Regions from separate parts of the Homo sapiens genome. Here regions 2 and 3 are each linked to region 1. Evidence: promoter capture Hi-C in human tissues and cell types (Jung and others, 2019). All regions are on one chromosome and are shown on one strand. Each heading gives the region's core, a stretch centred on a gene start or on the middle of the fragment in contact. The rest is flanking DNA. Distances are from core to core; before and after follow the strand shown.

Region 1 (4,512 bases), core at 1,367-3,866:
CACCACCACTCTTTTTTTTTTGAGACAGAGTCTCGCTCTGTCGCCAGGCTGGAGTACAGTGGTGTGATCTCGGCTCACTACAACCTTCGCCTTCCAGGTTCAACCGATTCTCCTGCCTCAGCCTCCCCAGTAGTTGGGACTACAGGCGCATGCCACCACACCCAGCTAATTTTTGTATTTTTAGTAGAGACGGGGTTTCACCATGTTGGCCAGGATGGTCTCCATCTCTTGACCTCGTGATCTGCCCGCCTCAGCCTCCCGAAGTGCTGGTATTATAGGCATAAGCCACTGTGCCCAGCCTTTTTAAATTTTTTTTTGAGACAGAGTCTCACTCTGTTGCCCAGGCTGGAATGCAGTGGCATGATCTCGGCTCACTGCAATCTCTGCTTCCCGGGTTCAAGTGATTCTCCTGCCTCAGCCTCCCCAGTAGCTGGGATTATAGGTGTGTGCCACCACACCCAGCTACTTTTTGTATTTTTAGTACGGAGAGGGTTTCACCATGTTGGCCAGGCTGGTCTCGAACTCCTGACCTCAGGTGATCCACCCACCTTGGCCTCCCAAAGTGCTGGGATTACAGGCATGAGCCACTGTGCCCAGCTGACCATCACTCTTTACTTAAACCACAGATCTTGGCTTCCAGAGTGGTCCCTCTTCCCGCAGTCCATCACCAGATCCAACCATGTGACTCCCAGTCTCAAACCCTTCCAGCAATTCTCCCCTATATTCAGGATAAAGTCCAGGCTTCTCAAAACCTGGCTTCTATCTTTCTCATTTCACCACCTCCTCATGTCAGACTGTATTCCAGACTTTGAACACTCAACAGGGTCACATCACTTACCTGACTCTAGGTGTGTGCACTTTCCTTCCCCAAACCCTACCTTTGCCTGGCTAGCTGCTGCTCATCCTTCAGCTAGCACTTCACATTTCTGGCTCCTTTCCAGGTGCAGTGGCTCATACATGTAATCTCAGCACCTGGGCAGGCTGAGGCGGGAGGATCACTTGAAACCTGGGCAACAAAAGGAAACACTGTCTCTACAAAAATTTGTTTTTTTCTTTCTGAGTCTGCTTGCTAGGGGGAATTTTTTTTTTTTTATTTTAAAGATTAACTGGGCACAGTGGCATGTAGTTTATAGTCCAAAGGCTGAGGTGGCAGGATTATTTGAGCCCAGAAGTTTGAGGCTGCACTGAGCAAGGATTCCACCACTACACTCCAGCATGGGCAAAAGACCGAGAGACCCCCATCCATCTCTAAAAAGAAAATAAATAAATAAATAAATGGATGGCTACTTCCATGTACTGATAGCATGTGCACATCACTACATTTTTCTGTTTATATATAAATTTCCCCCACAAACCTGGCTACTCCTTGAGGTCTGAGCCTGTCATCTGCCTGAACCCCTCACTCCTAGAGTACCTGTCCCATACATACATACATACATACATACATACATACATACATACAATGTACACAATACACACACCACACACACACAGCTTATGGGGGAGAGATCTTGACAGGTTGAGTTTGGCCAGCTGGAAGGACATTTGAGGAAGTCGCTGCCTCTGTCACCTTCTTCCTTTACCTGTTGGAAAACCTGAAAAGAATCCTCTTGGAGAATATCAAAGCACTTTACTATACTCGGCAAAAAATCCCAGTGGACCAGATAGAATCATACTGAGATTGCTCCTGTATTAAAGATAAGGAAACAGATCTTGGAAAAGTAACAGGCCTGCAGCCCTGAGTATGAACGATCTGAAGGGGAAGAGTTAATTAACAGTAGCCTCATCCAGTGAAGGTTCAGATCTGTGTCTTACTTTAACAGAGTTCTGGGGCAACAGAATAACATGTCAGACTTTCTCAGACCCAAAGCAGGTGTCTAAGTAAGAGAATTATCCCCACTTCTCCCCACTTCTGAGAACTATCCCTGCACCTGCATAAGAAAGCCGGAGCAGCTGGAAAAAGCACATAGGTGAGCAAACAAAAAGATGGCAATTAAAACTTGCAGATCACCTAGTATGCGCTGTGCGCCTTCAAAGCTTTATCTCAATTCTTGCTACAGTTCTAATGTAGGACCTCATTTTATTGCTGAGGAAACAGGTTCAGAGAAACTGGGAAGTTAGCAAGAGATCATACAGAGAAAAAGAAGAGCTCAAATCCGAAACCAAGTCTCGTCCCCTCCAGTGCTCTGCGCTCTCCACTCAACCCCAGGGGCTTACATTTCAGTAGTAAAGAATCGAGGCCATCTCCTCCGGGAGAAAGATAGGCCAGCAGCAAGAGAAACTCACCTTGGCACAAGCACAGAGCGTGAATAGGGTACTGTGGCCTGGGCTCAGTTCTGCACCCCGCCAGAGATCCAACGATCCTCAGCTTAAGTCTGGCGGTGAGGGGGAAGTTCCACCCGGAGGGAGGGGCAGGGGCCGGGCATAAAGGATCACGCGCAGGGTGGACCGCCTTCGCCGCCTCCCGAGGAAGGACCTGAAGGGGATGGAAAACAGAGCTGGGAGGTAGTACCGTCTCCACCTCTGGATCCTCGAGGTCGAACTGGCCGGAACTTGGTCACTCACTCCGCAGCGCGGGTTTGGAGAACTCCTGGGCACAATGAGGCAGGTGGCGCTGGCCACGTGGGCGGTGCAAGGGGCGGGGCCAGCCTCGCCTTTTGCTGGCCCACATTGCACCGCGCGCCTAGGCGCCGCCGCAGGCGCTTTTCCGGGGGAAGTAAGGTAGCAGATGCCACGTTGCAGGTTCTTCTGGTGTCGGCCCTCCGGATTCACAATGCCATCCGTGGCTCCATACTCTCCCTAAAGTCAGGTTGGCTGGATTCCCAAAGTTCACCTAAGTTGGCCCCGTTACATTTAGTTCAAGCAAACTGAGGCCCAGAGAGCAGCTGCAACACCAAGATTGGCCAGAATACAGAAGACCTCGCGTCTGCAGATCCAGGCGCTGGAAAGTGCCTGGTCCCCCTGTCTGGACCATAGACCCCGCCCAGCACGTTATGTGCCAGGCACTGTGCTTAACACTTAATAAACATGGTTTTATTGAATCTTCATAATAATCCTGGAAAAGGAATATTCCTTTTTTTTTTTTTTTTTTGAGACGGAATCTCGCTCTCGCCCAGGCTGGAGTGCAGTGGCGCGATCTTGGCTCACTGCAACCTCCGCCTCCCTGGTTCAAGCAATTCTCTGCCTCAGCCTCCCGAGTAGCTGGGATTACAGGCGCCCGATACCACGCCTGGCTAATTTTTTTGTATTTTTTAGTAGAGACGGGGTTTCGCCATCTTGGCCAGGCTGGTCTTGAACTCCTGACCTCGTGATCCACCCGCCCTGGACTCCCAAAGTGCTGGGATTACAGGAGTGAGCCACTGCGCCTGGCCGAAAAGGAATATTCTTTTATTTCGTACAAGCCTTTTTAAAAATCGTAGTATAGCATATATACAGAAAATACACCAGTCTTTTTTTTTTTCTTTTTCTTTTTTTCCTATTCTACATCCAGGAAGAAAGAAAATGTATAAATCTTAAATGTATACAGTTCTTTTTTTTAAATTATTTTTTGCAATGTAACTGCCATCCAGAGGAAGATATTACCAGCACACCATAAGCCTGTGAGGAAAGTATTCATAATCCATTTTACAGATTGGACAGACTCAGCAAGGTTAAGGCTATTTATAATTTTCCCAAAGTCACACAGGTATTAATTAAATGACACATCTGCGATTTGAAATAGTCTGTGCTGTTTGAGTGGAGAGGTGTCTTGCATGTATGTGTTTTCCTTGGCAGGGATGGGCAAGACACAGGGTTATCTCGGTTTGGCTCTGCTTTTCCCCACACCTTTACTCCCTGAGAGCAACTCTTCCCATTTCCCCACCCCCGTTATCCCCCACTGTCTCCCCAACATAAGTGATGTCCTGGTGGACCAAATGTCTAATGTATCAGGCCATCCTCATAAAAACAATCAGACTTGGCCGGGTGCGGTGGCTCACGCCTGTAATTCCAGCACTCTGGGAGGCCGAGGCAGGCGGATCACCTGAGGTCAGGAGTTAGAGACCAGCCTGACCAACATGGAGAATCCCCGTCTCTATTAAAAATACAAAATTAGCCGGGCGTGGTGGCACATGCCTGTAATCCCAGCTACTCGGGAGGCTGAGGCAGGAGAATTGCTTGAACCTGGGAGGCGGAGGTTGTGGTGAGCTGAGATTGCGCCATTGCGCTCCAGCCTGGGCAACAAGAGTGAAACTCCATCTCAAAAAAAAAAAAAAAAAAAATTCAGCTAGGCGTCGTGGCGCGCACCTGTAGTCCCAGATACTCAGGACGCTGAGGCAGGAGAATCGCTTGAACCCGGGAGGCGGAGGTTTCAGTGAGCCGAGATCGAGCCACTGCACTCTAGCCTCTTGACAAAGCGAGACTGCCCCTCAAAAAAAAAAAAAAAAAAAAAAAAAAAAAAAAATTAGCTGGATGTATTGATGCGAGCCTGTAATCCCAGCTACTTGGGAGCCTGAGGCAACAGAATCACTTGAA
Region 2 (4,512 bases), core at 1,254-3,753, 710 kb before region 1:
CAGAGCATCCTCAACCTTGGCAAAATAAATCTCTAAATTGAGACTTGTCTCAGACACTTTCTGATTTATATCCTCTAAACATTGCCACCCACCCTTCAAGGTCCTTCTTTAGTCTAGGAATACTATCCGGAGGCAACAAAGCCAATCAGCCCCCAGTATCTCACTCTCCTCAGGGTTCTAAGCATTGTTTCAGCCCTCTTTTGGCAGACAGTATCTTGTATTTTGGTATCACAGGCTCTCCCTGTCACTTGTCTCCAAGGCAGCATCCTGTCTTCAGCATTCCCCAGTGACTAGCACAGCCCTTGGAAGGCAATACTCAGTGAAGAGATTTTGACAGATTTTCTCCTACCACCCAGACTGCTGAGAGTCAAGTACCTCGTCACATATGACCAGACCAACACTTCCTTTCTGGAGGACTCCAACATGAAGGCGGAAGGTCTCATAGGAAATGATGAGGATGGGAGAAGACACCCTGGCTCCACGCTGGTTCATGAATCCTTCTACAACAGAAAAGGTGTAAAGGGAACAATTCAGAATCTTTTGAAAAAAAAAAAAACAAAAAAAACAATTAGACAGTTCTTTAATTTAGCCTGGAAACAACTGACTCCACTTCAACTATTTTCAATGGAAATTCTCTTTTCTTCTACCCCTGCATTGCCCTCCACCCTGGCCATAAATGAGCATACACGTAAGAAAGCAGCAGGCTGTGCAGGAGAGTGCAGCCATCTTTGTTAGGGCTCCGTACCCAGCTTTTGGTCTATTTCATCCTTAGATCCTCCATCGATGGCCAGAGGTTGGATCCTCCCTCCGAGCCATTTCCCAACCTCATTGTACCAGTTCTTCACCAGGCTGGAAGGCGACACCACCACTGCCTTGTCAATTTCTGGCTTGCACTCTGGACTCTGGCGTAAAAGTGTCCACATCAATGTGATGCACTGCAGCGTCTTTCCTAGGCCCATCTCATCAGCCATGATGCAGCCATGGCTGCCAGGGATGCGCCGACTGGTGACACACTCCCACAGGAATTTCACTCCCTAGAGAATAACAGCCTTCAGTCCACTTTGGCACCTACGCTGCTGCTGTCCCAGGGATGGTAGTCTCCCAGGCTCAGCCCATAGCCCATACCTCGTTCCCCTCACCCTCATTTACCTCTCTCTGATGAGGCCGCAAAACCTTACTGAGAATAGGGTCAACAACCACATGGACAGGGAGTTTCTCCCTGAGAAAACACAGCAAAGAAAACAGCGTGCTCAGACATGGGCAAGGGAGCACCCTCAGGAAGCTGTGTCCTGCTGATCCGGAGGCAACAGAGGCAGCTGCCTAAAAGAAGACCTTCTTGGCTGATAAATCGTAAAACCATAGCAAGTTCCTACTTTAGGAGTTAGAAAGTTAGCTCAGAGAGGGATGGGTTCCCTGTGTCATCACCTCAATCACTCCTCCTCCTGAGTGAGCATCCTGGGAAGGCAGGAGGGGATGAGGAATGCCCACTCACTGGACATGACCACAGGCTCTTCCCCAGGCAGTCTCCTTCCCCAATCATCTACTCTCTGAAAACATATGTCAATCCTAAAAAGAAATCACACCAAAATACCCTCTGCCCTCCCAAGTATGCGTGCATATACAGAGAACCAAAACTGCTTATGAAATACCAGTGCACATACTTGTCAAGCTTCAGCTGGTCATGAGCGCTCAGCGGGGGAGGCTCATACAGAACCAAGGCATCTTTTTCCAGGGGGTCATGGAGGGCCCGGCGGACCCCAGCCCTTTTCAGGCCCAATGCTCGAGAGCCCAGAGGACCTACAAACCAATAATCATTCCGTCACCTGAATCTATGTTTAGGAGCTCCAGCAAGCCCAGCTCAAATACTTGTCCTTCACATAACCTTTCCCGAGCTCCCATATGACCCTCTCTCTCTGAGAATGCCTCCAAACTCAGTTTGGGCATCTCTATATGACCATTATCCCATTCAGCTTTTTTTTTTTTTTGAGATGGAGTCTCACTTTGTTGCCCAGGCTGGAGTGCAGTGGCACAATCTCGGCTCACTGCAACCTCTGCCTCCCAGGTTCAAGCAATTCTCCTGCCTCAGCCTCCCAAGAAGCTGGGATTATAGGCTCCCACCACCACACCCAGCTAATTTTTGTATTTTTTTTAGTAGAGACAGGGTTTCACCATGTTGTCCAGGCTGGTCTTGAACTCCTGACCTCTGGTGATCTGCCCGCCTTGGCCTCCCAAAGTGCTGGTATTACAGGCGTGAGCCACGATGCCCAGCCCCCAGAATTTTTCTGCTTTGAATCAGAGCTTTTCCCGTTTTATTTCTCCCATTCAATTACAAACTTCTGAGGTGCCAGATCTGGTTCATTTCAACTCAAGACAATCCTGGGAAGGCCTGAAATTCTAAAGGGCACTTTCATGGAGCTTTCTGAGAGCTCCTGAGAGCTGGCCACAGCCAAGCGTAGTATCTCAAGCCTGTAGTCCCAACACTTTTTGAGAGGTCGAGGTGGGAGGATCGCTTGAGCCCAGGAGTTCGAGATCAGCCTGGCCAACATAGTGAAATCCTATCTCTATTAAATTAAAAAAAAAAAAAGAGAGAGAGAGAAAGCTGGCCTCCCTATTCCTCCAAGCCCCAGTTTTAGCATAATGCTGTACCCTACATAAGACAGGGAAAAACCTTATAGAATCCAGGCCTCCCACACAGTCAGCCTCATAAAAGGGATGCTACTGAATGCACTTGGATTGAATGAAGCCCAGGTCCATCAGCCATCTTGGCCCACCAGGAGCTTTCTGAGCACCGGGACACCTCTACCAAGAAGATGAGGGGCAGTTAGTCTTGGCAGCCCTTACTGAGGCTAACACAGTTTTCATGCAGGCCTCAGGAGGGTCACCCCAAACACAGCCACCGCTGGACTGGCACCTTCAATTCCCAGCTAAGCTTGTATTTACAAAAGCAGGTTTTTAATTTATTCAGGCACACGTACATATGACTGATTTCAAAAACAGAAAAACCTCCATTTTACCTTGATAATTTGGAATGGGGACTTTGAAAGGCTTTGACAAAATGCTTCGAATAAATGCTTCCTAAAAAGAAAGGAGAAACAAGGATTCAGGACTGACTGGAGATGTTATGGGACAATATCATGATATGCTTCACATTAGGTTTTGTACAACAGCATCCATCTTCGAGGCTTTATGTAAGGTTCTACAAATATCCAGGGATAGCAGAAGGGCCCAGCCTCAGTCAACCACGAGGCTTAGAACCCAGGAAACCATTCACTCATTAAAAACCATGCCAGTGAGCATACCTAGCTCTTCCCTAGGGTATAGCACCTTGGAAAGCAAATACCACAGACTTAGCCAACCTGAGTAATAATGGATAATTCTAATGTCTGGGTTTAACCACTGTCATATAGGGTTACACCTTCCCAAGCACACCTCACAATTCTTTTTTTTTTTTTTTTGGCTACATCAGTTATGTCTAATATATCTAATACTCACATCAGCCTCCTTGGGAACTAAACAGCTCATCAAAGAGTAGTGATGGAGAAATGGGAGCCATCGTATTAATAAAATAATATTAACAACACCAGGCCGGGCATGGTGGCTCACACCTGTAATCCTAACACTTTGGGAGGCCAAGGCAGGAGGATCACTTAGGTCTGGGAGTTCGAGACCAGCCTGGGCAATATAGCAAGACCCCATCTCTATTTTAAAAATATATATTTAAAAATATAAATAAAAATAATGATGGCTACCAATGTATGCTAGACACAGAGCTAAGCCTCTTGCATTCATGTTACCATTTAATCCTAACAGCTGTATGAGGTCCATATATTACTGGTGTTTCCATTTTACAAATGAGCAAACTGAGGCTCAGAGTGATTAAGTCACTTTCTCAAGTCACAAAGCCATTACAAATGCAGGACTTTCCTGGTTCTAGGGTCCTTACTTGTACTCAGTAGGCAACGTGGCCTCTCACCCACTCTGAGTACAGCCATGCAGATCAGCCCAGACCCAGCAGCTTCCTGCCATGTAAAGCACAAGAGAAGGAACATGAGAAAGGGACATGAGAGAGAAGCTAAGCCCAACACTAAGAAAAAGCAAGTGGGACAAGGGTGACAGCAGGTAGACATATGTGGGTCCTAGAGAGGTAGCACTGGTGACTCCTCCACCTAAAGGCAAGAAGCCTCTGTACAAGCACTTCTGCCTTGAACCAGCATTATTCCATGGGCTATGGGGCTGGGGCAGGGGCAGAGAAGGCAGAAAAATTAACACTGAGCTAACTCTGACAGCTCCCATGGAAGTTCTGGTCCACACACACCTGAGCCCTTTGCGGAACTGTGATAGCCTGTGAACCTCAACAAAACCAGAGGTGGAAGCCAAGAGAGCAGAGAAATAAAGAGCAGAGACCCTGAAGGTAGTTTTAATGGGAATATATTAGTGGAAAAAGCAGTAATGAAAAAATGTCCCTTCTAGCAAAAAACATAGTCTAATAGGAAAAAAAGCAAGCCTGCCGTG
Region 3 (4,512 bases), core at 1,262-3,761, 630 kb before region 1:
CCAGCTGCCCCTTCAAGTGGAACTAGTACCATGTCAGCCAGGACTACACCAGGTGCTGGAGTTCTGGGCCCAAATCTAGGCTGAGCTCTTCACAGAAGCCTGTGGGACTGGGGCAAGTATCTTGGCCTTTCCGATCCCTAGTTTCCTACCTGGAGCATAGGGATAGTTAGGGCTAAAGAAGAGATGAGGTCTAGGTCAGGTGAGGTGGCTCACGCCTGTAATCCCAGCTCTTTGGGAGGCTGAGGCATGTGGATCACCTGAGGTCAGGAGTTCGAGACCAGCCTGGCCAACATGGTGAAACCCTGTCTCTACTAAAAATATAAAAAGTTAGCCGGGCGTGGCCGGGCACGGTGGCTCATGCCTGTAATCCCAGCACTTTGGGAGGCCGAGGTGAGTGGATCACGAGGTCAGGAGATCAAGACCATCCTGGCTAACACAGTGAAACCCCGTCTCTACTAAAAATTCAAAAAATTACCCGGGCGAGGTGGCGGGCGCCTGTAGTGCCAGCTACTCGGGAGGCTGAGGCAGGAGAATGGCGTGAACCCCAGGGGGCGGAGCCTGCAGTGAGCCGAGATCGCGCCACTGCACTCCAGCCTGGGCGACAGCGAGACTCTCTCAAAAAAAAAAAAAAAAAAACACAAAAATTAGCCGGGCATGGTGGCAGGTGCCTGTAATCCCAGCTACTCAGGAGGCTGAGGCAGGAGAACTGCTTGAACCCGGAGGCAGAGTCCGCAGTGAGCCGAGATCACACCATTGCACTCCAGCCTGGGCAACAAGAGCGAAACTCTGTCCCAAAAAAAAAAAAAAAAAAAGAAAAGAAAAGAAAAAGAGGTGAGGTCTGAAGAACACCAGGTAGGCCAGCAGCAACGAAAAAATGAAGTGCTTGCTGAGATCCCAGAAGCAGGGACAGATCTGGGGTTTTGCCTGAGTGGGAAAGGCAGGCAGCCTGGACCCTAGGAAGGGGGCTCCTGAAGGGCTTCCCAGAACCTAAGGAGTGACCCTTTCCCATTGCCCTGGTAAGAATTCGTCACAAGCTTGTTATTTTCATAGCTTTCCAGTCCAGTGCCCCTACCCAGGAGGGGGTAGTTTCAGTCCAAAGTTCTCCCCTTTATAAGGAGGCAGACTGGCCTAACCCAACTGTACTTCTTCATGCCCTCTCAGCCATCCCTCTTAGTTTCCCTCCAAGGCCTGGAACCCAAATGAAGGGGAGAAATAACCACTTCTGACCCCCAACCCCACCCTACTTCCCTCCTTTCCAGGGCCTTCTGAGTTGGCAGCCCCACAGGAATCCGTGGCCAGTTTAGGCCCCTCTCCCCAAGGATACATGAAGAGTCCAACTGGCAACATTGTAACAGGTTTATGCATTTTGAAGTGCCTTCTACACATCCACCCAGAGGCTCTGCTGATTTCACTTATGCCCAGGCTATAAAATGCCTTTCTCTCATCCCCCAGTAGAGCACTGGGATCACCACTAGGCCTAGGGGGCATATCAAGGGTTTAATAGACTGGGGGAATGGGCAACAGAACTGGCTACCTTAGAGGCTCTGGAATGCCCCCCACCCATCCACCCACCAATGGAAGGAAAGTCAGGCATCGCCTAAAAGGAGTGGTCCCTATCTAGCCCCAAGTCTGGAGCAGAAAGGGCAGGTCCATTCTGGCCCAAGTGACATTGTTAGATCCTGTCCCCTCCCCCAATCACTGCTGCTTGCCAGGGTGCCTCTTCACAGTTCCCATGTGGCAGCAGTAGTGGCAGAGGCAGAAGTGGACTTATTGTAGATTGCAGTACAGATACATGGACACAATCATGGCAGCCAGCTGGAGAGGGAGGAACAGGGAGAGATGAGGGAACATGATAGGGATCCTGAAGCCTGTCCCACAGACACCCTACCTGAGGCCCAGTTAGAAGTCTGTTTCCTCCAGAGAGGCCTCAGATGGGTTGAGCAGCCCTGGTCTCATGCCCATGTCCCAGTCCCAGCCTCCTCATCTGCTTACCTCGAGGCCCCCAATTCCAGCTGCCACACCACCCACGGTGACTGCATTAGTTCGGATGTCATACAAAAGCTGATTGAAGCAACCCTTCAGGAAGAGAAAAGAGCATTTATAGTTGGCAGCTGCCCTACTCCCATCCCCGTTTGCCACTCTGAGGCCATGAAAACAGTCCCCACCCACTCATGCCAGCCCACACCTCTACTTTTTGGTCGTGAGCCTTTTGCTTGGTGCAGGTTTCATTGGCTGTGTTGGTGACGTTGTCATTGCAACAGAATGGGGGAAAGGCACTGTTCTCTTTGAAGTAGGGTGAGTCCTCAAAATCCGTATAGTTGGTGAAGCCACAGCACTTGAGCTGGAGACAAGATGAGGGTGGAGGTGGGGCCTTGCTTCTTTCTCTCCACCCTAAAACCTCCCCCAGCCAACCTTACCCCTTTCATGGTGGTGTTCCACACTTGAGTGAAGTCTTCCTGGGAACCATAATCTTTCTTGATGGCAGGCACTACCAGCAACGTCAGGAAGTGCTCAGCCTGGGTGAGGCAGGCCAGTGTTTAGGGGCTGGTACAGAAGGTGGCCATTCACAGGCCACAGCCCACTCCCAGGGTTTTGCCCAATCTTCTTCCCTTCCTCCATCCCAGTGTCTCACCATTGTGGTGTACACCAAGGCGACCACAGCAGCTGCAACCTCAGCAATGAAGATGAGGAGGAGGATGAAGAAGAACTGAGTGGGGAACAGGGGTCTGGGTTTTAGGGAGAGACAGTCCCTCATGCCCTCCTTGCCCTAATCCCCCCCCCGGAAAAGTGAGACAGAAGCCTGAGCCTAGGGGGGTCCAAAGCAGGGTTTGGGAATCCCAGGGCCTGGTGTCAAGGGCGAGGGGACTCTTGGTCATCAGCCTGTGGAGCTGGGTTTCACACACCGTCACGAGGGCACACTTGCTCTCAGTCTTAGCACCATAGCAGCCCAGGAAACCAAGAGCAAAGACCACAACGCCGGCTGCGATGAGGAAGTAGCCCACGTTGACAAACTGCATGGCACTGGACGACAGTGGCCCGAAGATCTTCAGAAAGGATGCCCCATCGATTGACACCCAGATGCCCACTGCCAACAGGGCTGCACCACACAGCTGGGGAGAGAGAGGTCAGGCAGGCCTTAAACAGTGCTGGCAAGTAGCTTACTACCACACAGCTGAGTAAGAAGGATGGGAGCCGAGAAACTTCCCTCTTTATTGGCTAGGGAGTCTAAAACCTCATCCTGTAAGGAGGGAAACATCCTCTAGAGCCAGAAAAATGGGAGCTGGGATATGCATAGCTAGGACCAGGCTGCACACCTGGGCAGATATAAAGGAGATCAGGGGTTCTAGAAATATCCTCAGGGTGGGCAGAGGGGCAAGACTTTCCCTCACTGCTGCCAGGGTCCTGCCACATAGCTAGGATTGAAAACAGGCAGGTGAGGGCCCAGCCTCCTATTTCCTTTCTGGGCTATGGGTGCCTAGAACACCTCTGTCCTCTGATAGGTGGAGACGGGGGTGGTAGCAGAACAGGCTCAATAGTCACCATAGTAATGGAGGCGAGGCTGAGGTTCCACCTGCTGGCAACCTTGGAGAGGGAGGAGGTTGAGAAGGTTCACCCACCTGAGGCCCCATTTGGCTCCCCTCCAGAATCCAACTTCAGGCCCGCCCCTCATGTAGACAAGACCTCCTTGCCTCACAAGAGGAAAGTGAGGTACCAGTGGGAATACAGCCAGAGCTTCTCTTAAAGGCTGTCTAGCTCAACTCCAAACCTCAGGGGGAATTCTGAGGCCTAGATTGAGGAGGGCCCTGCGCAGTTCCCACAGATCTTAGAGGAAAGCCTCCCGGCCCAGGGCTTCAGTGGATGAATCAGCCTGACACCACCTTGGTGACTAGTCCTCACTTGCCAGCTATAAAAACTGAGGCTAGAACGGGAAGTGAGGTGGCAGATTGTGGCTGGATTCCAGGCATGTTTGCCCAAGGACAGAAAGCTGGACTTCTAGCCTGCAGGGTCAAATTTCATGGAGCTGGAGGTCTGCCCTATCCTGCTTTGCCCAGCCTGGCAAGGTCTGGGTAACAGAGGCCAGAAATCAAACCGGATTTGCCTTTAACCCTCTCAGGGCAGAGCCTCTCCTGTCCAAATCCCTGGAATCCTATTGCTTCCTCCAGATACAGGGATAAAGACTAGTTCAGGACTGGCACAGTGGCTCATGCCTGTAATCCCCGCACTTTGGGAGGCAGAGGTGGGAGAATCACTTAAGTCCAGGAGTTCGAGACCAGCCTGGGCAATATAGTGAGACCGCCTCTACAAAAAAAATTTTTTTTAATTAGCTGAGCATGGTGGCACACTCCTGTAGTCCTAGATACTCAGGAGGCTGAGTGAGGTAGGGGAATCCCTTGAGCCCAGGAGGTTGACGCTGCAGTAAGCCATGATCATGCCACTGCACTCCAGCTTTGGTGACAAAGCAAGATCCTGTCTCAAAGAAACAAACAACAACAACAACAACAACAAAAACAC

Evidence for each region. Contacts are between HindIII fragments. The study calls those that stand out against the background at their distance.
Region 2: a contact is called between a fragment that was not itself captured here and the fragment with the promoter of AKR1A1 in region 1, in 1 of the 25 tissues and cell types used here (aorta).
Region 3: a contact is called between a fragment that was not itself captured here and the fragment with the promoter of AKR1A1 in region 1, in 2 of the 25 tissues and cell types used here (H1 embryonic stem cells and heart left ventricle).

What each region holds. Positions count from the first base shown.
Region 1 is chr1:45,548,930-45,553,441 of GRCh38, reverse strand. AKR1A1 (aldo-keto reductase family 1 member A1) reads right to left here and starts at 2,616. Exons shown (of 9, transcript NM_153326.3): 1 at 2,287-2,616. RefSeq lists enhancers at 2,144-2,363, 2,594-2,823, 2,874-2,933. The HindIII fragment of the contact is 19,939 bases long and covers 1-4,512 here.
Region 2 is chr1:46,257,249-46,261,760 of GRCh38, reverse strand. It overlaps RAD54L (RAD54 like), which reads right to left. Exons shown (of 18, transcript NM_003579.4): 4 at 3,015-3,075; 5 at 1,662-1,797; 6 at 1,150-1,219; 7 at 746-1,034; 8 at 376-500. Among named protein-coding and RNA genes, the nearest start is that of RAD54L, 12 kb to the right of the region's middle. The HindIII fragment of the contact is 4,363 bases long and covers 322-4,512 here.
Region 3 is chr1:46,182,789-46,187,300 of GRCh38, reverse strand. It overlaps TSPAN1 (tetraspanin 1), which reads right to left. Exons shown (of 9, transcript NM_005727.4): 4 at 2,904-3,110; 5 at 2,633-2,707; 6 at 2,418-2,516; 7 at 2,186-2,341; 8 at 1,993-2,076; 9 at 1,339-1,815. The coding sequence ends at 1,768. Among named protein-coding and RNA genes, the nearest start is that of P3R3URF-PIK3R3, 8.6 kb to the right of the region's middle. RefSeq lists an enhancer at 2,655-2,704. The HindIII fragment of the contact is 7,189 bases long and covers 1-4,512 here.